Linked DNA regions of Homo sapiens: regions 2, 3, 4, 5, 6 and 7 are each linked to region 1. Evidence: promoter capture Hi-C in 16 types of primary human blood cells and fetal thymus (Javierre and others, 2016). All regions are on one chromosome and are shown on one strand. Each heading gives the region's core, a stretch centred on a gene start or on the middle of the fragment in contact. The rest is flanking DNA. Distances are from core to core; before and after follow the strand shown. Region 1 holds the start of EXOSC1 (exosome component 1). Region 2 overlaps AVPI1 (arginine vasopressin induced 1). Region 3 overlaps ARHGAP19 (Rho GTPase activating protein 19). Region 4 overlaps PI4K2A (phosphatidylinositol 4-kinase type 2 alpha). Region 5 overlaps ARHGAP19 (Rho GTPase activating protein 19). Region 6 overlaps MORN4 (MORN repeat containing 4). Region 7 overlaps HOGA1 (4-hydroxy-2-oxoglutarate aldolase 1).

Region 1 (3,426 bases), core at 637-3,136:
GAGTGCAATGGCACAATCTGGGCTCACCACAACCTCCGCCTCCTGGGTTCAAGCAATTCTCCTGCCTCAGCCTCCTGAGTGGCTGGGATTCCAGGCATGTGCCACCACGCCTGGCTAATTTTGTATTTTTTTAGTAGAGACCGGGTTTCTCCATGTTGGTCAGGCTGGTCTCAAACTCCCGACCTCAGGTGATGTGCTTGCCTCAGCCTCCCAAAGTGCTGGGATTGCAGGCGTGAGCCACCGCACCTGGCCCAGACTTTTCATCTCAAGAAATAGAAGTAAAGCAAAATTCAAAAAGATGTGTGTAGGGGAGAAGGGGCTAATCTCAGTGAACGGGAGGAAACAGAGCAAAGCGCAGCTTTACTACCACCCCAAGCACAAGCCCGAGTACTCTGATCCTTCAGTAATAGTCACAGGCCATACTGGTCATCTGCCACCAGACTGGAGGAGATTGCTGGCCACAACACTCCCCTCTTCCCATGGCTTTAAGTCACATCTGTTTCCCAATGGGAAAGTCGACTGAGGGGACAGGGAAGGACAGACGGCAAAGCCATCAGAAGTCAGGTGAACTGAGATCAAAGTCGTGGCGAATGTCATCTGGACAAAGACGCTGCTCTCAGGATGTTTGCAATCTCAAGTAGGAGATACCCAACATCAATAAAGAGTAGCATTTTATTCATGTGCAGACCTCCCTTCTGGGCTAACACGCTGAGAAGAAAAAGAGTAACAACTTTATTTTGGGGCTGCTTATCTTTTGATGACGGGCCCACACAACCAGAGTTCGGCTTTTTCAACCAGAGAAAGCTTACTGAAGTGGGGATGAGGGGCCGCGAAGAGGATCGGACCGCAGGACTGGAAGCTGCAGTTTAAAAAACCGGGAAAAGGCCGGAGGCAGTGGCTCATGCCTGTACTCCCTGCACTTTGGAAGGCCGAGGCGGGCGGATCAAGAGATCAAGACCATCCTGGCTAACATGGTGAAACCCCGTCACTACTAAAACTACAAAAATTAGCTGGGCGTGGTGGCGCGCGCCTGTAAGTCCCAGCTGCGCGGGAGGCTGAGGCAGGAGAATCGCTTGATGCCGGGAGGCGGAGGTTGCAGTGAACAGAGATCGCTCCACTGCACTCCAGCCTGGCGACAGAGCGAGACTCCTCAAAAACAAAACAAAAAAACCGGGAAAAGGTTTTATTTCTCAATGACAGCCGCGAGGTGAAACTGCGATGGACTGGAAGTCAAAAACCGTGGGTTCCAGTTTGGGCTCTATCTTAACTATCTTGATCATTTTGGACAAGTCAAACCCTGTCTCTGAATCTGAGGTTCCATATCTGTGAAACAGACGAGTTGGGTCGCTTGACCTCCTTCCCTCCTGCTCTGAGCGTAACGATTGCTCGGAAGGTGCGCTCGGGCTGAGGAGGGCACGGCCCCGCAGGGCGGGGCGAGGAGAGAGCAGGAACCCGCACTCAAGACAAGGCCCCAGGGCAGTGCCCTACCCAGAAAAAGGGACTAGGATGGGGAGCAAGGGCCGAGGCTTCGCCCTTACCTGCCGCCTGCCGACTCCCCAGTCAGCCAAACCGAGCCCCGTAGCCTCTGCCGCCGCTCACTGCCACCCCCTCCGACTCGGCGCCCCGGCCGGGCCCGGCTCAATCCAAACCACCATGGCCCGCCGCCCGCAGCGCCAGGCAGCGGACCCGGACCCGCCGCCAGCCCATCCTCAACCACACGCGCAGGCGCCAGCGTGGACCTCTGAAGTTCCGCCCCCGGATTTGTCCCGGGGTAACCTGGGAAATGGAGTTTACTCGCAAGGATAAAGAGTACCAATTGACACGTGTCTTACTGCGGAACTGTGCCTGGGTTTGGCCAATGAGAAATCGACTTCGTTTTCATCCTGGTTTTGGGACAGCGGCAATCATGGCGCCACCTGTGAGATACTGCATCCCCGGTAAGTGAGCGCTTCCCGTACAGAGTCCTGGATAGGGGCTGAAGCAAGAAGGCTAAACGGCCTACAGCTTCTGGGGGCCCGTGACCGATGCAGCATTTTTTCTGCAGGCGAACGTCTGTGTAACTTGGAGGAGGGCAGCCCGGGCAGCGGCACCTACACCCGCCACGGCTACATCTTTTCGTCGCTTGCCGGCTGTCTGATGAAGAGCAGCGAGAATGGCGCGGTAAAGGAAGCGGCATGCCATCTCCCCTCTGTTTTTCCCTTAGGCTGCCCTTGAGTTCCAGTCCTTAGGCATGGGCACTGCGGACGCGTCTTTAGTGCCTCAGTGGTACAATGTTGGTCTCTTAGTTTCTTCTAGCCGTATCGCCGCTGTGGTGCACTTAGCCACCACACACTAGTTGTGTTGATCTCGCTTGGTTGTGCTGCTGACCCTCGGGGAGGGAAGTTGGGACAAAAGCAGATGCGAACTCAGTATCCCATCCCAGCCCAGCTCAGCCCAGCAGTGAGTTGCATACTGTATGAATGTTGCTTACCTTTCCGACTTTATCTAGCGCCACTATCTCCACCTCACTGACGCAATCTAGTCATACTGTCTTTTCTGTGTTTAAAAGTTATAATCACAGTCTCTGCTTGCCCTTTAAAAATTTTTTATAACATACTAGCTTCTTTCAGTGTCGGTAATGCGCCAAGCTTTCTCCTGCTACAGAGCCTTTGTAACATGCCATCTATCTGGAACGCTTCTATCTTCCTAGGCCTATTTAATTCCTACCTCCTTTAGATAGCTTCTCTACTATCACCTCAGAGAAGTCCTTCTGGACCCACTAATTGAGGAAAGGAGTTTTGTGGGGTGTTTTGTTTTTGTTTGTTTTGTTAAAGACTCACAAAAAACTCTGTTCCTTTTCTTCCAAGCACTATGTCAGCATATGATGAGACACTCAGGTATATGTTTCCTACTAGACTTCTCCCCTGCTTAAATCTAAGTCCGTGAAAGCAGGCCCTACCACCATACCATCCGTATATAGCACAAGGCAGCTCCTCAATAAATGTTGAATGTGTGAGTAATACCTACCTTTCTAGTTTCAGAGATAGATCCAGGATTAGCTCAGGATCATATAAGCAATATTTGAAGGAGCACAATAGAAAGAGGATTCAGAATTAGAACAGTTACGTTCTGGCTAACTTGACTTTGATTCTGCTTTGAGTAAGTAACTTAAGCTGTCTGATTCAAGGGGCTTTCTATTCAGTCATTGTTGGGAATGTTCTTAACAGTCCTGAGTTTGTTCATTTCATAGATATCACTTGAGTATTTTCATGTGTCAGGCACAGCGCTGACTTGGTTTCTGCTATCAAAGGACACAGACACAAATTGTAAACAAATAAATGCTCAAATGAGCATATGGTTACATATGTGGTGGTGCTTTGAAAGAATATTACAGGGCACCTTGAGAACATGTAACAGGCAAACCCATCCTAGTCAGCAGAAGTGACA
Region 2 (3,426 bases), core at 448-2,947, 240 kb before region 1:
CACACCTGTAATCACAACACTTTGGGAGGCCAAGGCGGGTGGATCACCTGAGGTCAGGAGTTCAAGACCAGCCTGACCAACATGGTGAAACCCTGTCTTTACTAAAAATACAAAAAATTAGTCGGGAGTGGTGGGGGACGCCTGTAATCCCAGCTATTCGGGAGGCTGAGGCAGGAGAATCACTTGAACTCAGGAGGTAGAGGTTGCAGTGAGCTGAGATTGCAACACTGCACTCCAACCTGGACAACAAGAGCAAAACTCACTCTCAAAAAAAAAATAAAAATAAAAGCATGGGCTGCAGTCATTTGAACCACCTCTGGCCTCGGCTAAGCCACTGGTACTCATATTTGCATCTTAGCTTCCCTTTACTTCCCTGTGAAATGGGATAACAGTCCCTAACTCCTAGAATTGTTTTGAGGATTAAAGGATATCATACGTATTGCCTGATCCAGAGTAAATATCCCATAGTTAGCTTTTCTTTTTATCAGCCTAAAAGTGTTACTTGGCGACTGTTGTCTTCTTGTCACAGTGTGTTTATGTCATCCAGCTCTGGGGGCTTAATTACCATATAGATTAGGTTTTAACTGGATTTTCATAATAGCACCTAAGGAGAGGCAGATTTTTAAATTTCCATTTTCCAAATAAAATACAATTTTCATGACGTTAACTCATCTGGAAGTCTTCTGCAGCTTTATTGTAGTTGTTAAATCTTTTGAAAACAGGGTGGAGTTTTTATGATAGAAGGCCTGGAAACTGGGACAGAGTGAGCATAGAAATGATTGGGATAATGAGGGTGACTATTGAGGTGAGGAGCGGAGAAGGCCAGGGCAAGGGGGGGAGTCATATTTTGGGAGTATGAGTGGGGCGGAGACAATTCAAACTCTTACAGAGAACAAAAGGCAGGTTAGGGGAAGGGTTACTTCTGCAAGTGGGTTGATAGGAAATTGGAAAAGTTTTTATATATAAGCTTTTGTACTGTTTGCCTCTTATGATGAGCATGTAAATATTTTAATTTAAAAATATTTTAATGTTCCTTTTCCCCTTTTGGAAGCTGGTTGCTGTTGACAGCTGTCTCTGTAGCTGGCTGTGGAATGAGGTCTGACTTAGGCAACCAGGCCCTGGAGAAGCAGCAGGACCTGCTCCTCCTCTCCCCAGCAGGCCTGGGGCTGGGAGAGATGGGTGGGAGCACAGGCCTGTCATCAGCTGGCTGTGCCACACAGCTTAGAGGAAAGAGGAGGGTTTACCTGTACCCCTGACCCAGGTACAAAGGTCACAGAGGCCAACAGAGGAGGATTTGCGTTTATAAATTCCTCAGTATCCATGGAGGGTGGTTCCAGGCTCCTCCGTGGGACGCTTAAGTCACTTACATAAAATGCCATGTTGGCCTATAGACTGCGCACATCCTCCTGCATGCTTTAAATCATCTCTAGGGTACTTATAATACCTAATACAATGTGAATGTTTTGTAGTTACAATGTATCTATTTTTTATTTGTATTTTTTAATTGTTGTATCATTGTATTCTTTTTTTCTTTTTTTTTTTTTTTTCTTTTTTTTTGAGACGGAGTCTCGCTCTGTCGCCCAGGCCGGACTGCGGACTGCAGTGGCGCAATCTCGGCTCACTGCAAGCTCCGCTTCCCGGGTTCACGCCATTCTCCTGCCTCAGCCTCCCGAGTAGCTGGGACTACAGGCGCCCGCCACCGCGCCCGGCTAATTTTTTGTATTTTTTAGTAGAGACGGGGTTTCACCTTGTTAGCCAGGATGGTCTCTATCTCCTGACCTCATGATCCACCCACCTCGGCCTCCCAAAGTGCTGGATTACAGGCGTGAGCCACCGCGCCCGGCCGTATTCTTTTTTTTAAGACGGAGTTTTGCTCTTGTTGCCCAGGCTGGAGTGCAATGGCGGGATCTCGGCTCACCGCAACCTCTGCCTCCTGGGTTCAAGTGATTCTCCTGCCTCAGCCTCCCGAGTAGCTGGGATTACAGGCATGCGCCACCACGCCCGGCTACTTTTGTATTTTTAGTAGAGACGGAGTTTCTCAATGTTGGTCAGGCTGGTCTTGAACTCCTGACCTCAGGTGATCCGCCCGCCTCACCTCCCAAAGTGCTGGGATTACAGGTGTGAGCCACCACGCCCAGCCATATCATTGTATTCTTAAATTTTTTATTTATCCTCTTATTGGGTAACTGATATAATTTTATTTAGCTCTTATTGGGTAACTGATATACTGGGCTCATTTATCCTTACTATAACCCTAAGAAGTGGGTAATCTTATCCCCATTTGACAGTTAAGGAAACAGGCTCAGAGACGAGGTTGGGTAACTTGCTTAAGGTGTCAGAGTTGGAACTCAAAACCTGTTCTATGTAATGCCAGGCTTCCCTTGTTTCCAGGCTGTGCTGGAGACAAGGATGGGTGGGTAAGCTTCTTAGGCCTTTATTATTCAAAGTGAACTATCTAGAATCAAGGGAGATCCTTTAATTTTCACTTCCTGGATATGATGGGAGACATTGACACAGAGTCTAACTTCTATTGAACTTTCTTATAAGTTTCAGTCTCTGCCCTTGACAGTATATTCTAACCCTTGTAGCCTCCTCTTCTGCCTCCACCTCTTGCTCATTAGGTCCACTGGACTGTGGTTAGATCTGATTGGCTCATTTCATACTATGTTTGCTAAATTATACAGATTTGGTTCATCCCCAGGGTCTTAAAGATAGGAGGTGGGATGATGTCTCAATTTTATAGATTGAAAACACTGACCACTATTCTATATACTTTGTCTTCCTTCAATCTTCAAATTAATCCTACAAAGTAGGTAGTAGTACTAGGTGATAATTTGACACGGGAGGCAGCTGAGGCAGGGGGGATGCCCAGCCAGTAAGTGGTGGAGGGGGTAGAAGTGGGATTCCAACTCGGGTAGCCCAGCTCCACAACTCCTCTCTTACCTTTGTGCTACGGCACCTGGGCCTTAGCATCAGAGAGGCCTGGGTTCTCATCCTAGTTGCAGAACCATGGATGACTTAACCTTTCCTCAGATTCCTCATCTGTGAAATGAGGAGGATTAAAATACCTACCTTACAGGGCTGTTGTGCTTGTTACATCTCATTGATACTATGTGAAGCAAGCTGTTACAGGTGCCTGGTATAAGTACTCAACACAGTTGAGCTGCTACTGGGCATCCTGGCGTCTGCATGGAATCTACAGCTAGACAGACCTGGGTTCAACTGCTGGCTCTGCATGTGCACGTGGCTTTGTGACGCTGGCAAGTCATTTAACCCCTCTGAGTTGCACTTCTTCATCGGTAAAATGAGGATAAACAATAATTCTTACCTCATGGGTTGCTTTGAATCCTAAATGAGATAATATGGGGGTCTGACACATAAGTGCTTAAGTGATTTTAAGGCAGGAGACTTCCTCCAGTTTAGCTC
Region 3 (3,426 bases), core at 543-3,042, 210 kb after region 1:
CGAGGTTTCACCATGTTGGCCAGGCTGGTCTCGAACTCGTGACCTCAAGTGATCCACCCGCCTTGGCCTTCCAAAGTACTGGGATTATAGGCATGAGCCACTGCACCCGGCCAGCTCCTACTCACAAGTGAGAACATGTGGTGTTTGGTTTTCTGTTCTTGTGTTAGTTTGCTGAGGATGGCTTCCTTTTGTTTTTATTTTTGGTGTTTTGCCCTGCTTTTCTTTTAAAAATTACTTTGTTATTAAGATATATAATTCCAGCAACACAGGGAGCTCTTTGCTTAAAATTTAAAATTTTTGCCCTAAAAATAAATAACTTGTAATATTTATTTATTTATTTATTTTTGAGACAGGGTCTTGCTCTGCTGCTCAGGCTGAAGTACAAGTGGCACCATCATGGCTTATTGCAGCCTTGATCTCCTGGGCGCTCAGCGATCCTCCTACTTCAGCCTCCCAAGTAGCTGGGACCACAAGTGCATGCCATCATACCTGGCTGATTTTTAAATGTTTGTAGAGATGGGGTCTTGCTGTGTTGCTGGTCTTTTTTTTTTGAGACAGTCTCGCTCTATGCCTCAGGCTGGAGTGCAGTGGCGTGATCTCAGCTCACTGCAACCTCCATCTCCAGGGTTCAAGTGATTCTTCCACCTCAGCCTCCCTAGTAGCTGGGATTACAGGCGCCCACCACCATGCCCGGCTAATTTTTTGTATTTTTAGTAGAGATGGGGTTTCACCATGTTGGCCAGCCTGGTCTTGAACTCCTGGCCTCAAGTAATCTGCCCGCTTCGGCCTCCCAAAGTGCTGAGATTATAGGCGTGAGCCACCATGCCCAGCCTGTGTTGCTGGTCTTGAATTTCTGGGCTCAAGTGATCCTCCTGCTTTGGCCCCCTGAAGTGCTGGGATTACAGATGTGAGCCACTGTGTCTGTAATTTTTTTTTTTTGAGGTACAGCTGTTAGCATTTACAAATTCATCTTACTGTAATTTTGGTCCTAGTTATAATTTATAGATATCTAGAATTCACTCTCAATCCTGACCTCCTGGGGCCAGTAGCTTCTAGGACATTAGGCTTACTTGACATCAAAATTTCCTTTGCCATCTACAGAGTGAAAAGGCAACCCTGGATTGGGAGAAAATATTTGCAAATCATATTTATGATTAGGGATTAATATCCATAATAATCTAAAGAACTCCTATAACTCAACACAGCAAAAACAACCTCATTAAAGAGTGGGCAGAGGCCGCGCACAGTGGCTCACGCCTGTAATCCCAGTACTTTGGGAGGCTGAGGTGGGCGGATCACGAGGTCAGGAGATTAAGACCATTCTGGCTAACACGGTGAAACTCCATCTCTATTAAAAATACAAAAAATTAGCCGGGCATGTTGGCATGTGCCTGTAGTCCCAGCTACTCAGGAGGCTGAGGCAGGAGAATCGTTTGAACCCAGGAGGCAGAGGTTGCAGTGAGCCGAGATTGAGCCACTGTACTCCAGCCTGGGTGACAGAGCGAGACTCTGTCTCAAAAAAAAAAAAAAAAAAAAAAAAAAATAGTGAGCAAAGGACTTAAATAGAAATTTCTCCAGAGAAGATGTACAGATGGCCAAGAAACACATGAAAAGATGTTCAACATCACTAATCATTAGGGAAATGTAAATCAAAACCACAATTAGATACCACTTCACACCCACTAGGATGACTATTATTAAAAAAAAAAAAAAAAAAACAACGGAAAATAACAAATGTTGATGAGGATGTGGAGAATTTGGAACCCCTATGCATTATTGATAGGGATGTAAAATGGAGGAGCCACTGTGGAAAACAGTATGGCAGTTCCTAAAAAATTTAAATAGAATGACCTTGTGATCCAGCAATGCTACTCCCGGTATATAACCAAAAGAATTGAAAGCAGGGTCTTGAGGCAATATTTGTACACCCGTATTCATAGCAGCATTATTCACAAAAGCCAAAAGGCAGAAGCAACCCAACTGTCTATTGACTGATGAATGGATGACAAACCTTGGATATACAGATAATGGAACATTATTTGTCCTTAAAAAGGAAAGAAATTCTGACATATCCTACAACATGCGTGAATCTTGAAGATATTATGCTAAGAGAAATAATCCAGTCATAAAAGGAAAAATACTGTATGATTCCACTGAGGTACCTGTGAGTCAAGTTCAGAGACAGAAAGTAGAGAAGGTGGTTGGTTGTCAGGGGAGCTAAGAGTATGAGGAGAATGGGGAGATATTATTTAATGGGTACAGTATTTCTGTTTGGGAGGATGAGAAAGTTCTGAAGATAGATGATGGTGATGGTTGCACAACACTATTAATATACTTAATACCATTGAACTGTATACTTAAAAATGGTTAAAATAGTAAATTTTATGTTATGTTCATTTTATCATTGTTTAAAAAAAATCCCTTAGCTAGAATCCTAAAAGTGCATTTACCTGCTTAGACAGGGCTAGTAAAACGAACATCGTTAGTTTACTCTTGTTTTTTTCTTCTCATTTGGAAGAATCTGTCATTCCCTCTGACTTCCCTGTCATAGAGATGATTGAGAATCAGAAAAGTTATAGTCAGATAAATGTTCCTCTATGTGTTAGTCTTTTTTTTTTTTTTTTTTTTTTTTTTTTTTGGTGAGACAAGAGTCTCACTAGGTGTGCAGGCTGGAGTGCAGTGGCATGATCTCAGCTCACTGCAACTTCCACTTCCTGGGTTCAAGTGATTCTCATGCCTCGGCCTCCCGAGTAGCTGGGATTACAGGCATGCACCACCACGCCCAGTTAATTTTAGTAGAGACAGTATTTCACCATGTTGGCCAGGCTGGTCTCAAACTCCTGGCCTCCAGCGATTCACCCGCCTCAGCGTCCCAAAGTGCTGAGATTACAGGCGTGAGCCACCGCTCCCGGCCTAAAATATTATTTTTGTGTTTTCCCTCAGCCTTATCAAGGTATAATTGACCATCTAGCCTGTCTGGATCCCTTTTTTGGCTAGAGTTTTTTCCTCCAGAACTCCTCTCATGTAAATTATTTATTAAATCAGAATGTTCTGAATATTGCTGCTCATATTTATAATGCAGGGTTTAATGTTCTAGTTTTGATATGTTCTTTTTTTAGAATTCAAATTTATTCTCTAAGGGAAAAAAAAATTTCTCCAAAGATGGTAGAATTGTCACTGTTGGCGGTTACCTAAACTACATCATCTTCTAAGCTGTTCAGAGATGAAAGGGCTTTTAGTCTTGCTCTGAATGTCAGTACAGTCATGTGACCCCCTTAAGAAGGCCTCTACCTTCTTGTGGCTATATTAGGAACTCTTATAGAATGTCTCCAAATGTTCCAGTCCTGTGTGAGTAAATGACAGGGAGGAAGAAGTGCCTTAGAGAAGAGCCAGCCTAAGTATCCCTCAGTGGTAAGTAGGGGGGAG
Region 4 (3,426 bases), core at 568-3,067, 210 kb before region 1:
AAATTATGTATGTACAACACTTCCACTGCTGGCAACTAAAATCTCCCACAATCCTTAATTCACATTCTCCAGTCTGTGCAGCTAGGAAAGAAGGGCTGGGAAATAGCAGAGCCACACCATGGAAGAACCTCGGATACCTTGTAACTACATGAGTGATGTGGTATCTAGGAGAGCTGCCTATCTGGCATGAGTCTGAGATGTAATCAAGAAATACACTCCTGGCCAGGCGTGGTGGCTCACACCTGTAAACCCAGCACTCTGAGAGGCCGAGGTGGGCAGATCACTTGAGGTCAGGAGTTCGAGACCAGCCTGGCCAACATGGTTAAACCCCGTCTCTACTAAAAATACAAAAATTAGCCAGGCATGGTGGTGCACGTCTGTAATCCTAGATACTTCGGAGGCTGAGGTGGGAGGATGGCTTGAACCTTGGAGGCAGAGGTTGCAGTGAGCCAAGATCGCACCACTGCACATTCTATCCTGGGTGACAGAGGGAGACTCTGTCCCAAAAAAAATATGATAAAAAAGAAATACAATCCAATTGTATTAAACCACTTAGATTTAAGGGTTGTTACAGCAGCTAGTATGAAGTACAAGGATTAACACTGTCATCTCCTGGGTTAGATTAGGCCAAATGCCCATCTTCTTTCCAGAGACAAACAAGTTGCAATTTACTCTGTACCCCTTCATTTCCTTTTGAAAAAAAATTTTTTTTTTTTTTTTTTTTTGAGACAGAGTCTCACTCTGTTGCCCAGGCTGGAGTGCAGTGGCACAGTCTCGGCTCACTGCAACCTCCAAGTCCCGCATTCAAGCAATTCTCATGCCTCAGCCTCCCAAGTAGCTGGGATTACAGGTGTGTGCCACCACTCCTGGCTAATTTTTGTATTTTTAGTAGAGAGAGGGTTTCACCATGTTGGCCAGGCTGGTCTTGATCTCCTGACCTCAGGTGATCCTCCTACCTCGGCCTCCCAAAGTGCTGGGATTACAGGCATGAGCCACTGTGCCCGGGCCCTTTTGAATTTTTTTACTTTGTGAAATTATTCGTATTCAAAACACAAACATTAAAATTGGTTTTCATTTTAATTAACTGCTATTTTTATGTATAGGCTATACACTGTAATCCTGGCTGCCTCTGAGGAAGGAAACTGAATGGCCAGGAGATAGGGGTAGCAGGGAGTCTGAATTACTTTTCTCTGTTTACCCTATGTGCCTTCTGATTTTTATACTAGATGCATGCATTACTTATTCTAAAAAAAATTTTTATGAGCCATCAATATTATACTTAAGTCAAATTGCAGTGACGTAATTGTAATCCACATATGCATCTATTGTCACACTTATCACATTGTCTTGTAATTATCCATTTGTATATCTAACTCCTCCTTTAAAATGAATGAGATTTGAGGAAGCGGAGAACATCTTATTTATATTAGCATCCACAGCACCTAACACAGTAGCTGGCATATGCTCATTAAATATTTATTAAGTGAATGAAGAATGAGTTACAAGCTTCTTTCAGAGACAGCAACAAGTGAGTTTTAGCATATAAATACCTAAAATCAAACTTATAAGAAAGGTATTTTCCTAAGCCTTGTAAAATTTATTACAAATAACTATTTTTTTTCCCATGAACCTGAGAGGCAAAATAACTGCCTCTCATCTATCGCTCCATGCTACCATCTAGTATTAATAGACTACCTAAAATGGATGTGCATGGTACTGTAGTAGGCACTCCCTGCCTTACAAATCAGAAAACTCAGGCATAGGAATGAAGGAAAAAGAGCTTTCCTAAGGCTACCTTGCCAGTGTCCACAGTGAAACTCCTGGCTCTCTCAAGCCATAAATCCCCTTTTGCCCCCATCATATTTATTTTCTATCATTCTTCCTAACAAACCACTTTTTCCCCATGACTAATGAAACTATCATAACCTGAAACCTCATAGGAGCAGAGAGCAGAGACAGCCAGTGAGTGAGAATTAGAGCCTTACCATTTGAAGTTCCAATGCAATGTGAACCTTGTTTCTATAATGACAGATGCTCTGATCAACTGGATAGAGTCCTGTCACAAGAGTTGGGGAGACAGGGAGAGGAGTCCTCTTACTATTCTCCAGCAGCTATATGTTAAGCTTCCAAAGTTCTGTCTCATCTCAGTCTCATGGAAGACAAGTATTTTTTTTTTTTGAGACGGAGTCTCGCTCTGTTGCCCAGGATAGAGTGTGGTGGCACAATCTCAGCTCACTGCAACCTCTGCCTTCCAGGTTCAAGCGATTCTCCTGCCTCAGCCTCCCAAGTAGCTGGGATTACAGGCACGCACCACCATGCTCAGCTAAGTTTTGTATTTTTAGTAGAGACAGGGTTTCACCCTGTTGGCCAGGCTGGTCTCGAACTCCTGACCTGAGGTGATCCACCCACTTAGGCCTCCCAAAGTGCTGGGATTACAGGCGTGAGCCAATGAGCCCAGCCAAGACAAGTATTTTTGTTGTTGCTGACTTTCTGATGCAAAAGATCCTCAGGCCTCGTGAAGGTTCTCTAACAGGGAAAGAGGAAGACCAAAGATAGGGACGAAAGGGATTGTGGGGGTGACACTAACGATTAGAATAGCTGATAAAAATATCACAGGCTAACATATGGAGGGTTTACGTTGTGCCTGGCACTCACTCAGCTATGTGCTTCATATAGGCTGTCTTGTGTAATATTGATGGCCACTCTACAAAGTAGGAACTATTTATATCCCTATTTTTACAGTAAGGAAACTGAGCCTAGGGAGGTTACATGACTTGCCCAAGTGTTACACAAATCAAAAACTGCAGAGCAAGAATTCAAACTCAAGTCCTCTGATTCTTGGGCACCACACTCCAGAAGCACCAACAGAGCAGGTAGGCATAGAGCCAGACACGGTCTGCTATTTGCCTAGTAAAGGAAGAAAACTATAGAGTGATAAGCAAGGAGAATGTAAAAGTTTCTAGAGTCTAAGAGGAGCCTAGTAGAAGCATTTCAGGTTAGGAGACTTAAGAACATTAATTATCATACAAGATGTTCAAAGCATGCTGTAAAACTATCTGCACAGAGAGGGAAAAGTAAGGCATAAAGAGAAGGAATGAGCTGTACAAAGCCAGGCAGTGAATTAGATGTGAAATGGGAACTAGAAGCCTGGTCAAACATTTTCTCGCTAGACCTAAAGTTGGAAGAACTTTGGTATTGTTTCTCATGATTTCATATTCATTTACTGACTCAGCTGGTACTTCATGAATGCTTACTATAAATATAGTATTTTGCTAGGTGCTGAGAATGAGAGAGGAAATCTTGAGAAGTGGTCTCTGACTTCTATAACTTACAAACTAGTTGGCTAATTGTTTGGAGTTTAGTAGCAAAGGAGCAGACATGGTTAAATATCCACAATAGTCACATTTTCCTCTCAAACGGAAGGGA
Region 5 (3,426 bases), core at 318-2,817, 190 kb after region 1:
TTTCTAAAGAGGCAGTGGTGTCCTTGATAGCTGGAACAGATTCTGTTTTTTTCTGCCCATTTTGAATCCTAGACTAGATTTTCCTTGCCAATTTTGTTTACATGTCTAATTTTCAAGCAGAATTAGGAAATGAAAATGGTTTTCAAGGATTTCCTCGTCACTTCAGGGACACATTGTTTTTCTAGATTATGTCATATCCTGATGAACCAAAAAGTCTTCCCAGAATTAAACATTGTATTAGAGGCACCTAGGCTAGGGATAGAAACTTCATACATTTGAAAGAACAGGCTTATTGGTAAGTACTACTTTCTAGCTCTTAATGTCCATTGTTTGGTTTCTTTTCCTCTGAATAGGTCACTGCAAATGACCTTCAGGAGAATATCACAAAGTTAAACAGTGGGATGGCTTTTATGATTAAACACTCCCAGAAACTTTTTAAGGTAGGTAAGGGATAGCATTTGGCTGGTAACAGGACAAAGAAAATGGAGCAAGGTGGGATCCTAAGTGGGGCTATAAAGATAACTAAACGAGAAAAAGGTCCTGAATGGGATTGCAAACCAGAATGGACAGTGGCAAAACCCAGGGGGTAACAACCACTATGGTGGAAAGGAGTAGGAATAGGAGGCTGAGTAGGGCTGGGTCCTCTGGGTAACTGACTCCACCCTCTGAGCCATTCTTCCTTTTTCACAAAGGCAGCACACGTGGCAGCTAGGTAGTTTTATCCTGCCTGCTTACTGCCAGTAGAGTTTTGGGGGTCTGCCAGTAGAATTTTGGGGGTCATTTTGTACTCTTTGGCCCTTTCAATCCAAACAGGCTGTATTTCTGCTGACATAATTTTCTAAGAACTTTGTAGGTCTTCTGTGGATTTCATTGAGATTCATTCTATTAGACAAAGGCCACATATACAAATCTTTTGAAGATAAATCTTTCCCTACCTTGGTCACCTGCTGAGAAACCTAAGGGACAGTACCTTTAAGCTTCCTAAAGGCTTTCTGGTTTAATTGAGAGGATCTGTGAGGTACGCTCTTACTCTCTTGAAAGGGCCCTTTGTATGATTGAATACTCTGACCTTTTGATGTTTCTAAGGTTTTAGCAAAACGTAGCACAGTCACATCCTTGACCTTTTCTTTAGTGTATACTTCCTTGATAGTGAATCTCTTAATTTTAGCATCTTTTTTTTTCAGACAAGGTCTCACTCTGTCGCCCAGGCTGGAGTGCATTGGTACAGTCTTGGCTCACTGCAGCCTCAACCTTCTGGGATCAAGTGATGCTCCCGCCTCAGCCTCCCCAGTAGCTGGGACCACAGGCATACACTGCCACGCCTGGCTGATTTTTTGTATTTTTTTGTAGAGACAGGGTTTCAACGTGTTGCCCAGGCTGGTCTTGAACTCCTGGGTTCAATCCTTCTGCCACAGCCTCCCAAAGTGCTGGGATTACAGGCGTGTGCCAATTTTAGCATCTTTTGCCATCTGGAGAGGCTGAAAGTTTCCAAGATCATCCAGTTCTGGTTTCTTTTTTTCTTGCAGTAAAATGCTTATAAAATTTGCCATCTTAACCATTTTTAAGCGTACAGTTCTGTGGCATTAAGTACATTCACGTTGTTGTGTAGCCATCATCGCCATCCATTTCCAGAACTCTTCATCTTGCAAAATTGAAACTCTGTACCCATTAAACAGTAACTCCGTAAAACCCTCCTCCCATCCTTGGCAACCACCATTCTACCTTCCATCTCTATGAATTTGACTACTCTGAGTACCTCATGTAAGTGGACTCATACGGTATTTGTCTTTCTGTGACTGCCTTATTTATACTTAGCATAGTGTGCTCAAGGTTCATCCACACAGTAGCATGTGACAGGATTTCCTTCCTTTTTAAGGGTGCGTAGTATTCCACTGTGTGTATATACCACATTTTGCTTATCTGTTCATCAGTTGATGGATATCCCTTTATATTCCAGATATCATCCTTTATCAGCTATATGGACAAATATTTTCTCCTATTCTGTGGGTTGCCTTTTTACTTTGTTGATAGTGTGTTTTGATGTGCAAATTTAAAAAAATTTTATGAAGTCTAATTTGTCAATTTTTTCTCTTGTTGCCTGTGCCTTTGGTGTCATATCCAAGAAATCACTGCCACATCCATTGTCATGAAGCTTTTGCCTTATGTTTTCTTCTAAAAGTTTTTATAGTTTTAGGTCTTATGTTTATGTCTTTGACCCATTTTGAGTTAAGTTTTGTTTCTGGTGTTAGGTAAGGGTCCAACCTCATTCTTTTGCATGTGGTTTCATGGTTTTCCCAGCACCATTTGTTGAAGAAACTGTCCTTTCTCCATTGGTCTTGGTCCTCTTATTGAAAAGCATTTGAATATATATGTAAGAGTTTATTTCTGGCTTTCTAGTCTATTCCATTGGTCTACTTATCTGACTTTATACCAGTACCATGGTGGTGTGATTAGTAAATGTTGTAAAGGTGTTGTGGTAAATTTTGAAATCAGGAAGCTCGAGTCCTCCAGGTTGGTTCTTCATTTTTAACATTGTTTTGGCTGTTGAAGATGCCTTGAGATTCCGTATGAATTTTAGGATGCATTTTCTATCTTTGCTGCAAAAAACCTCATTGGTATTTTGATGTTTCTAAGGTTGATAGGGATTGTATTGAATCTGTAGATTGCCTCGAGTAGTATTGACATCTTAGCAATCTTATCCAATAATATGAAAATGGGATACTTTTCCATTTATTTATGTTTTCTCTAATTCCTTTCAGTAGTATTTTATAGTTTTCATTATACAGTAGTTCCCTCTTATCCATGGGAGATATGTTCCAAAGCCCTGAGTACATGCCTGAAACTGTGGCTAGTACCAAACCCTATATGTATACTATGCACGAATTTCTTTTTTCTTCTTCACAGTTTCATAGATAGATTTATTCTTATAGTGGATCTTAGCAACCTCAGCATATGATTTTTTGGTAAACTTTTTATTGACACATAATATTTGTACATATTTATTGGGTACATATGATATTTTGTTACTTGGATTGAATGTGCAATGATCAAGTCAGGGTATGTAGAGTATCCATCACATTGAATAGTTGTCATTTCTATGTGTTGGGGACATTTCAAGTCCCCTCTTCTAGTTATTTTGAAATATACCATACGTTGTTGTTAACTATAGTCATGCTGCTTTGCTATTAAGTGTTAGAACATATTTCTTCTATCTCACTACATGTTTGTACCTATTGACCAACCGATCTTTACTCTCACCCCTAACACCTATCCCAGCATCTGGTAACTATTCTACTCCCTACCTCTATGAGATCAATCTTTTTTTCTTTTCTTTTCTTTTTCTCCCTCACCATGAGATGCACTTTTTTTTTTTTTTTTGAGATAGAGTTTTCACTCTGGTTACCTGTGCTGAAGTGCAGTGATGCA
Region 6 (3,426 bases), core at 374-2,873, 180 kb before region 1:
CAGGAGATTGAGACCATCCTGGCTAACACGGTGAAACTCCATCTCTACTAAAAAATACAAAAAGTTAGTGGGGCGTCGTGGTGGGCACCTGTAGTCCCAGCTACTCGGGAGGCTGAGGCAGGAGAATGGCATGAACCCGGGAGGCAGAGCTTGCAGTCAGCCGAGATCATGCCACTGCACTCCAGCCTGGGCAACAGAGTGAGACTCTGTCTCAAAAAAAGAAAAAAAAAAAAAAAGAATCCCGTCTTGTTTTGAGCTGGGAGCAGTGGCATGCACCTGTAGTTCCAGCTACTCAGAAGTCTAAGAGGGGATTGGAGGATCTCTTGAACCTAGGAGTTCAAGTCCAGCCTGGGTAACATAATGAGACCCTGTCTCTAAAAGAAAAAAGAATTCTTTCCTGTTTCTCCACCAGGTCTGGCCCCAGTACTCTGAGGAGAATGTGTCCTTGTCCTGTTGGAACTCAGTCAGATGCCTGAGGGTCAGACTCTAGGTTACTTATTAATCAGAGGGGACTTTTTTTTTGGAGGGGGACAGGGTCTCGCTCTGTCACCCAGGCTGTAGTGGCACTGTCATGACTTACTGCAGCCTCAGACTCCTGGGCTCAAGCAATTGTCCCTGCTCAGCCTCCCAAAGTGCTGGAATTACAGGCATGAGCCACCATGCTTGGTTGATAGAGGACTTTTCAATAGTGATTTATAGTTCAGAGAACTTTTCACACACAGTATTTCCATTTATTGTAGCAGTAGGCCACAAGCTTTGAAGTAAGGATCTAATGATGTGCTTATTAAAACTGCAGGTTCCCAGGCTCTGACTACAGAATCTGATTCAGTAAGTCTGAGTTTGGGCCTAGGAATCTGCATTGTCAAAATTACTGGAGAAAACATTGTATTGCTTAGATCTGGAAAAGATGAGGAGGTAGCTAGATGTGGTAGTGTGCGCCTGTAGTCCCAGCTACTCAGGAGACTGAGGTGACGGGATGCCTTGAATCCAGGAGTTTGAGGTTACAGTGAGCTATGATCGTGCCACCGTGCTCTAGCCTGGGTGACAGAGCAAGACCCTGTCTCTAAAAAATAAATAAATAAATAAATAAATAAATAAATAAATAAATGAAAGATGAAGGGATGAATGAAGAGACCTAGGGAATTAAAAAAGAAATAGGGCTTGTATTTTTTAGTCTATCAAATGACGTACTATTTGCCTCTGTTTATATTTAATGATTTTGGGGGGTATCTTAATTCCCTCTTCTTCTTCTTCCGTTTTTTTTTTTTTTTTTGAGACAGGGTCTCCCTCTGTCGCCCAGGCTGGAGTGTCGTGGCGTGATCTTGGCTCACTGCACTTCTGCCTCCTGGGTTCAAGCGATCCTTCCACCTCAGCCTCCCAAGTAGCTGGGACTACAGGAACGCACCACCACACCCGGCTAATTTTTGGATTTTTTGTAATTTTGGTACAGATGGGGTTTCACCATATTGCCCAGGCTGGTCTCAAACTCCTGAGCTCAAGTGGTCCGCAAGCCTCAGCCTCCCAAAGTGCTGGGATTGTAGGTTTGAGCCACCGTGCAGTTCCCTTCTTATAGAATATCCTTCAATACATCCTTTCACCACTAATGTGAAGCCATATCTAGCCAGTCCCCAAATGTTACTGATTGTTTTCCTATGATGTATCCCCCCAGTTGTTCCTTCTGCTCCCATTATACTGTGATCTCCCAGACTCATGCCTGAACGTATCAGTTAGCTTTTTCTGGGTAATAACACACCACCAGAAAACACAGTGGCTTGAAACAATAACCATTTATTTATCCTGTGAGTCTGTGGTCGCTAGTTTGGGGCCGGGCTCAGAAGGGCAGTTCTTCTAGTCTTGCCTGAGCAATTTGTTCATCTGTGGCCAGCTGGGACAGGGTCTCACCATCCAGTAGACTAGATTGGACTCATTTACATGGGGGCAGAACAGGTCCAAGTGTAGCAAGAGGGCAAGCCCAGTGCACAGGTGCTTTGCAGACCTCTGCTAGATCACCTTTGCGAACATTCCATTATCTAGAACAAGTCACACAGCCAACCCAGGTCCAGCAGGTGGAGGAATAAATAAACTCTGCCTCTTTTTTTTTTTAGACAGAGCCTCACTCTGTCGCCCAGGCTGGAATGCAGTGGTGCGATCTTGGCTTACTGCAACCTCTGCCTCCCGAGTTCAAGCAGTTCTTCTGCATCAGTCTCCCGAGTAGCTGGGATTACAGGCACCCGCCACCACGCCCTGCTAATGTTTTGTATCTTTAGTAGAGACAGGATTTCTCCATGCTGGCCATTCTGGTTCAGGTGATCCACCCACTCCGCCTCCCAGAGTGCTGGGATTACAGGCGTGAGCCACCGCACCCGGCCAACTCTGCCTCTTAATGGGAGGATCTGCCTTGTCACATTGTAGGGTCATGAACGGAGGGAGAATAACTCTGCCCATTTTTACAATTTGCTTCATTATCATATTTCCCTTCCTTGCAAGCTTTTCTGACTATGGACTTGCTGCTCCAATTCATCCCACTTCGTGCTACCACATTCATTTTCCTTACACACTGCCTTCATATTACATCCTGGTTCACAAACCCGCAGAGGTCGCCTCTTTTCCTCCCTCATATGCTGTAAACTCTTATGCCCAGCTTTCAAAGGTCTCTTTAAGTTAGCCTGAGCTAAAAGCAGAGGCTGTGCTGTACAGGAAAAAAGGACTAGCATAGTCAGGGGAGGCTGTCAACAAACTTTATTACCTCTCTGGGCTTCTATTTCTCCTATAAAATGAGAGGTTGGGCTAAATCCATGAGATTCTTTTCAGATTTATTTATTTATTTATTTATTTATTTATTTCTCGAGACAGAGTCTTGCTCTGTCACCCAGGCTGGAGTGCAGTGGTGTGATCTCAGCTCACTGCAACCTCTGCCTCCTGGGTTCAAGCAATTCTCCTGCCTCAGCCTCCTGAGTAGCTGGGATTACAGGTGCCCGCCACCACACCCGGCTAATTTTTGTATTTTTAGTAGAGATGGGGTTTTACCATGTTGGCCAAGCTGGTCTCGAACTCCTGACCTCGTGATCCGCCCACCTCGGCCTCACAAAGTTCTGGGATTACAGGCATGAGCTACCACGCCCGGCCTATTTTTTGTTTTTTAATTTTACATTTTTGACATGAGGTCTTGCTATGTTGCCCAGGCTGGTCTTGAACTCCTGGGCTCAAGTGATCCTCCCACCTCGGCCTCCCAAAGTGCTGGGATTACAGGTGTGAGTCACTGCACCAGGCCTCTCTTCAAATTTAAGATTGTGGCTACATGTACCTACACAGGCTTATTTCCTAATACTCCCCAAATAAACCCTCAACTGTAATGAGACCAGGCTTCTTATTTTGCCATGGAACATCTCGTGTTCACATTGCCCTTAGAGTGTTCCTTGCCCTTTG
Region 7 (3,426 bases), core at 73-2,572, 150 kb before region 1:
ATCTTTGCAGACAGAAGGTTCCCACACAGCTGCAATGACTGTTCACATCATTTTTCTTTTTTAGACACAGGGTCTCACTCTGTTGCCCAGGCTGGGATGCAGTGGCTCAACCATAGCTTGCTGCAGTTTCGACCTTCTGGGCTCAAGTGATCCTTATGTAATAAGGTTATTACAATTTTAAGCCTTGTAGAAATGGAATTAAGCTTAAATAGCCTTCTGCAGTTTGCTGTTTGTTTAATACTATTTTTTGAGCTTTGTTCATAAAAGCACACGTAGCCCTGATTCATTCATTTTAATTGCTGTATAGTATTCTGTTGTAAGGTTAGAACACAATTTATTTGTCATTCTCTTGTTGAGAGCATTTAGAATGTTTCCTTCTTTTGGCTGGGCCTGGTGGCTCACACCTATAATTTCAGCACTTTAGGAGGCCAAGGTGGGTGGATCGCTTGAGCCCAGGAGTTCAAAACCAGGCAGGGCAGCATGGCTGCCTGTCTCTACCAAAAAATGGCCTACCTGTCTCTACCAAAAAAGAAAAAAGAAGAAAAGAATGTTTTCTTCTATTTGCTATTGCAAACAATGCTGAAACAAACATTTTCTGTAAAGTCTTCTGTGCATATGTCTAAGAGTTCCTCTAGAGTTCAGATACTTTGGTGTGTTAATTGCTGAGTCATAGCTATGTGCACCTTCATCTGTGACACATTTTTTATGTATTTACTTTTTCTTTGAGGGTCTCACTCTGTCACCCAGGCTGGAGTGCAGTGTCACAATCACGGCTCACGGCAGCCTTAGCCCCCCAGGTTCAAGTGATCCTCCTGTCTTAGCCAGCTAGGATTACAGGCATGAGCTACCATGCCCAACTAATTTGTGTAGTTTTTTTTGTAGAGATGGAGTTTCACTATTTTGCCCAGGCTGGCTCGAATTCCTGGGCCCAGGTGATCCTCCCACCTTAGCCTCCAGAAGTGCTGGGATTACAGTCATGAGCCCCCATGCCTGACTGTGCGCCACATTTCTAATCAATCAGTGTAGACCTCAGGAGCAGCATAGAATGTCATACATGCCAAATCATGGTATTGTCAGAACAAATTTTTGCCAACTTTCTGGGTGAAAAGTGAATCTCATTGCTTTATTTTGCGTTTTCCTGTTTTTATCAATCACTTACTTGGGATATGTCTAACCAGTATACCTGTACCAGTTACAGGTGAGCCACAGTGCCCAGCCCGCTTAACTTTCTCTTTCTTCTTCTTTCTCCTCTCTATCCCACTCCATTAAAGAAAAAAAAAATGGCAGTAGTTTACAAACACAGAGTACAATACAACAGGATTCTTAATTAATAGAAGGATATTTGGGCCTGTAATCCCAGCACTTCAGGAGGCTAAGATGGGGGGATCACTTGAGGCCAGAAGTTCGAGACCACCTTGGGTAACAAAGTGAGACCCTGACTTTACAAAAAAATAAAAAATAAATAAACCAGGTGCATTTGAAGCTGCAGTGAACTATGATTGTGCCACTGCACTCCAGCCTGGGTGACAGAGCAAGACCCTGTCTCAAAAAAAAAAAAAAAATTGGAGGCTATTTGGGAGAAGGAAATGAAAATAAGGCCACAAGCAGTATTGGTATACAAAGTTCCTGCCATATAGTTGTGAGAAATGAGCCAGAAATTCGATGTGGAGTTTCCTGATAGCCAGAGCTAAAAGGGAAACATGGTCAGCTAACAGACATGTAGAACCCAAAAGATAAAAGCAAAGCAACTGCCCCGGAGAAACACAGAGTTTCCTGGCACTGGGACCAAGAGAAATTGTTCCTGTGAGTCATCCTTCAGGGGACACTGTGTGATGTAGACTCCACTTCATTCCACCAACTTTTTCCATGCTGTTCACTACACCGTCAGATTCCAGAGTGAGTTGCCAGGATATCAGGATATCTCTCATTGGATATTTAGCTGCTTTTTTTTTTTTTTTTTTGGTAGTTATTTTGCATTGGTAACATTGCAGGGAACGTCTGGAGGCACACAGCTTCTCGCTCCTGTGGGATTGCTTCTGGGGGATTGATTCCTGTGTGTCAGGCTAGCAGCCCAAGGAAGGGCCTCCCTGTGTCTTGCTACATGGGGCTGCAGTGCTCTCCGTAAAAGCTGCCAGCCCTGGGTGAGGACTCCAATCTAGCTACGATTGGACCAGCACCCTCTGACTAAAGAGTCAAAGATCAAACTCTTGCCACTCTCTCTGTTCCAATACCAAAGTCATCTTCCTCCCCAACCCTGCCTGCCGTCCTGGGCTGGGGCAGGTTCTTGCTGCGGCCACTGATTCAGCCACCATCACCCTCTTCCTTCACCTCTCATCCTGCTGGTCAGTTCCAGGGGCCCTACAGGTGGAGCTGGTCTAAACAGCAGGACAGCTGAGGCTTGCACTCTGGGAGTCAGAAGCAGACACTGTGCTCAAAGCTTCTATGACACAGCCCTCTCTTCTGTCTCATTGAAGGGGGCAACTGACTCATGCCTGACTCCCAAGAAGGAAGAAGTGCCTGGCTGGAGAAGAGGGAGTGTGGCGTAGTCAGGGCAGCACTAGACTCAAGAGTCACCTCTGGATATTGAACAAGTCACATCACATCTTTGAGTCTGTTTCCTTTTCTATGGGATGACAGTGAAATCATTTCAATCCTAGCTTATAGGACTGTTTTAAAGGATAAGAAAATGTCCCAGAAATCTGTGAGTGGGTACCCCAAAGAGCCCCTCCTTCACCCTGGTTAGATGTCCAGGTGTGAGCCTGATGTGTCCCTGTTAGTGTAGAGAGGGGGCCAGAGGAGAGGAAAAGGCCAGGATCTCCAATGAAGCAGGGACTGGGGAAAAAGCAGAAAAGCAGAGGGCTCACAGAAGAGGGGTCAGATGCACAGGCCCTGAAGTCAGAGAAGCCCAGGCTAACTCAATTAAAAAATAGTGATGATATTAGTGCCTTTCTCAGAGTTTTGTTTTGTTTTGTTTTGAGACAGAGTCTCACTCTGTTGCCCAGGCTGGAGTGCAGTGGTGCGACCTCGGCTCACTGCAGCCTCTGTCTCCCAGGCTCAAGCAATTATCCTGCCTCAGCCTCCTGAGTAGCTGGGATTACAGGCACCTGACACCATGCCGGCTAATTTTTGTATTTTTAGTAGAGACAGGGTTTCACCATGTTGGCCAGGCTGGTCTCGAACTCCTGGCCTCAGGTGATCCGCCTGCCTTGGCCTCCCAAAGTGCTGGGGATTATGGGCATGAGCCATCACACCCAGCCTCTCAGAGTTGTTTTGAAGTTTAAATGAGATACTATTTATAAAGTACTTCGAATAGAACCTGGTGCTCAATAAGTGTTAGCTGTCATTCTTATGGAGTCAGGAGAAAGTGCTCAAACCTTAAATCAGGAGGGTGGCTGGTGTTGAAGGGGAGGCTGCTCTCAATGACCT

The links. Contacts are between HindIII fragments. The CHiCAGO score rates a contact against its expected background, and 5 or more counts as called.
Region 2: a fragment that was not itself captured here is called in contact with the fragment with the promoter of EXOSC1 in region 1 in 1 of 17 cell types (erythroblasts); the score reaches 5.8 in erythroblasts.
Region 3: a fragment that was not itself captured here is called in contact with the fragment with the promoter of EXOSC1 in region 1 in 1 of 17 cell types (neutrophils); the score reaches 5.3 in neutrophils.
Region 4: a fragment that was not itself captured here is called in contact with the fragment with the promoter of EXOSC1 in region 1 in 6 of 17 cell types (M1 macrophages, M0 macrophages, endothelial precursors and 3 more); the score reaches 7.3 in M1 macrophages.
Region 5: a fragment that was not itself captured here is called in contact with the fragment with the promoter of EXOSC1 in region 1 in 1 of 17 cell types (neutrophils); the score reaches 5.3 in neutrophils.
Region 6: a contact is called between a fragment that was not itself captured here and the fragment with the promoter of EXOSC1 in region 1, in 2 of 17 cell types (endothelial precursors and M0 macrophages). The highest score is 7.5, in endothelial precursors.
Region 7: a fragment that was not itself captured here is called in contact with the fragment with the promoter of EXOSC1 in region 1 in 1 of 17 cell types (endothelial precursors); the score reaches 5.3 in endothelial precursors.

The regions. Positions count from the first base shown.
Region 1 is chr10:97,444,466-97,447,891 of GRCh38, reverse strand. EXOSC1 (exosome component 1) reads left to right here and starts at 1,886. Exons shown (of 8, transcript NM_016046.5): 1 at 1,886-1,937; 2 at 2,045-2,160. The coding sequence starts at 1,907. ZDHHC16 (zDHHC palmitoyltransferase 16) reads right to left here and starts at 1,717. Exons shown (of 12, transcript NM_198046.3): 1 at 1,539-1,717. RefSeq lists a silencer at 1,456-1,665 and enhancers at 1,597-2,176, 2,177-2,757. The HindIII fragment of the contact is 1,823 bases long and covers 807-2,629 here.
Region 2 is chr10:97,680,016-97,683,441 of GRCh38, reverse strand. All of the region lies in intron 1 of AVPI1 (arginine vasopressin induced 1), which reads left to right. Among named protein-coding and RNA genes, the nearest start is that of AVPI1, 5.5 kb to the left of the region's middle. The HindIII fragment of the contact is 1,455 bases long and covers 970-2,424 here.
Region 3 is chr10:97,230,272-97,233,697 of GRCh38, reverse strand. The region is part of intron 9 of ARHGAP19 (Rho GTPase activating protein 19); the gene reads left to right. The region is part of intron 9 of ARHGAP19-SLIT1 (ARHGAP19-SLIT1 readthrough (NMD candidate)); the gene reads left to right. It overlaps LOC105378447 (a long non-coding RNA gene), which reads right to left. Exons shown (of 3, transcript XR_946226.3): 3 at 2,460-2,542. Among named protein-coding and RNA genes, the nearest start is that of SLIT1, 46 kb to the right of the region's middle. The HindIII fragment of the contact is 6,324 bases long and covers 1-3,426 here.
Region 4 is chr10:97,652,669-97,656,094 of GRCh38, reverse strand. The region is part of intron 2 of PI4K2A (phosphatidylinositol 4-kinase type 2 alpha); the gene reads right to left. Among named protein-coding and RNA genes, the nearest start is that of PI4K2A, 14 kb to the right of the region's middle. The HindIII fragment of the contact is 617 bases long and covers 1,509-2,125 here.
Region 5 is chr10:97,253,332-97,256,757 of GRCh38, reverse strand. It overlaps ARHGAP19 (Rho GTPase activating protein 19), which reads left to right. Exons shown (of 12, transcript NM_032900.6): 6 at 354-440. It overlaps ARHGAP19-SLIT1 (ARHGAP19-SLIT1 readthrough (NMD candidate)), which reads left to right. Exons shown (of 15, transcript NR_037909.1): 6 at 354-440. Among named protein-coding and RNA genes, the nearest start is that of ARHGAP19, 38 kb to the left of the region's middle. The HindIII fragment of the contact is 1,175 bases long and covers 980-2,154 here.
Region 6 is chr10:97,620,541-97,623,966 of GRCh38, reverse strand. All of the region lies in intron 1 of MORN4 (MORN repeat containing 4), which reads left to right. Among named protein-coding and RNA genes, the nearest start is that of MORN4, 11 kb to the left of the region's middle. The HindIII fragment of the contact is 1,733 bases long and covers 757-2,489 here.
Region 7 is chr10:97,595,244-97,598,669 of GRCh38, reverse strand. All of the region lies in intron 1 of HOGA1 (4-hydroxy-2-oxoglutarate aldolase 1), which reads right to left. Among named protein-coding and RNA genes, the nearest start is that of C10orf62, 7.2 kb to the right of the region's middle. RefSeq lists an enhancer at 2,104-2,398. The HindIII fragment of the contact is 2,234 bases long and covers 206-2,439 here.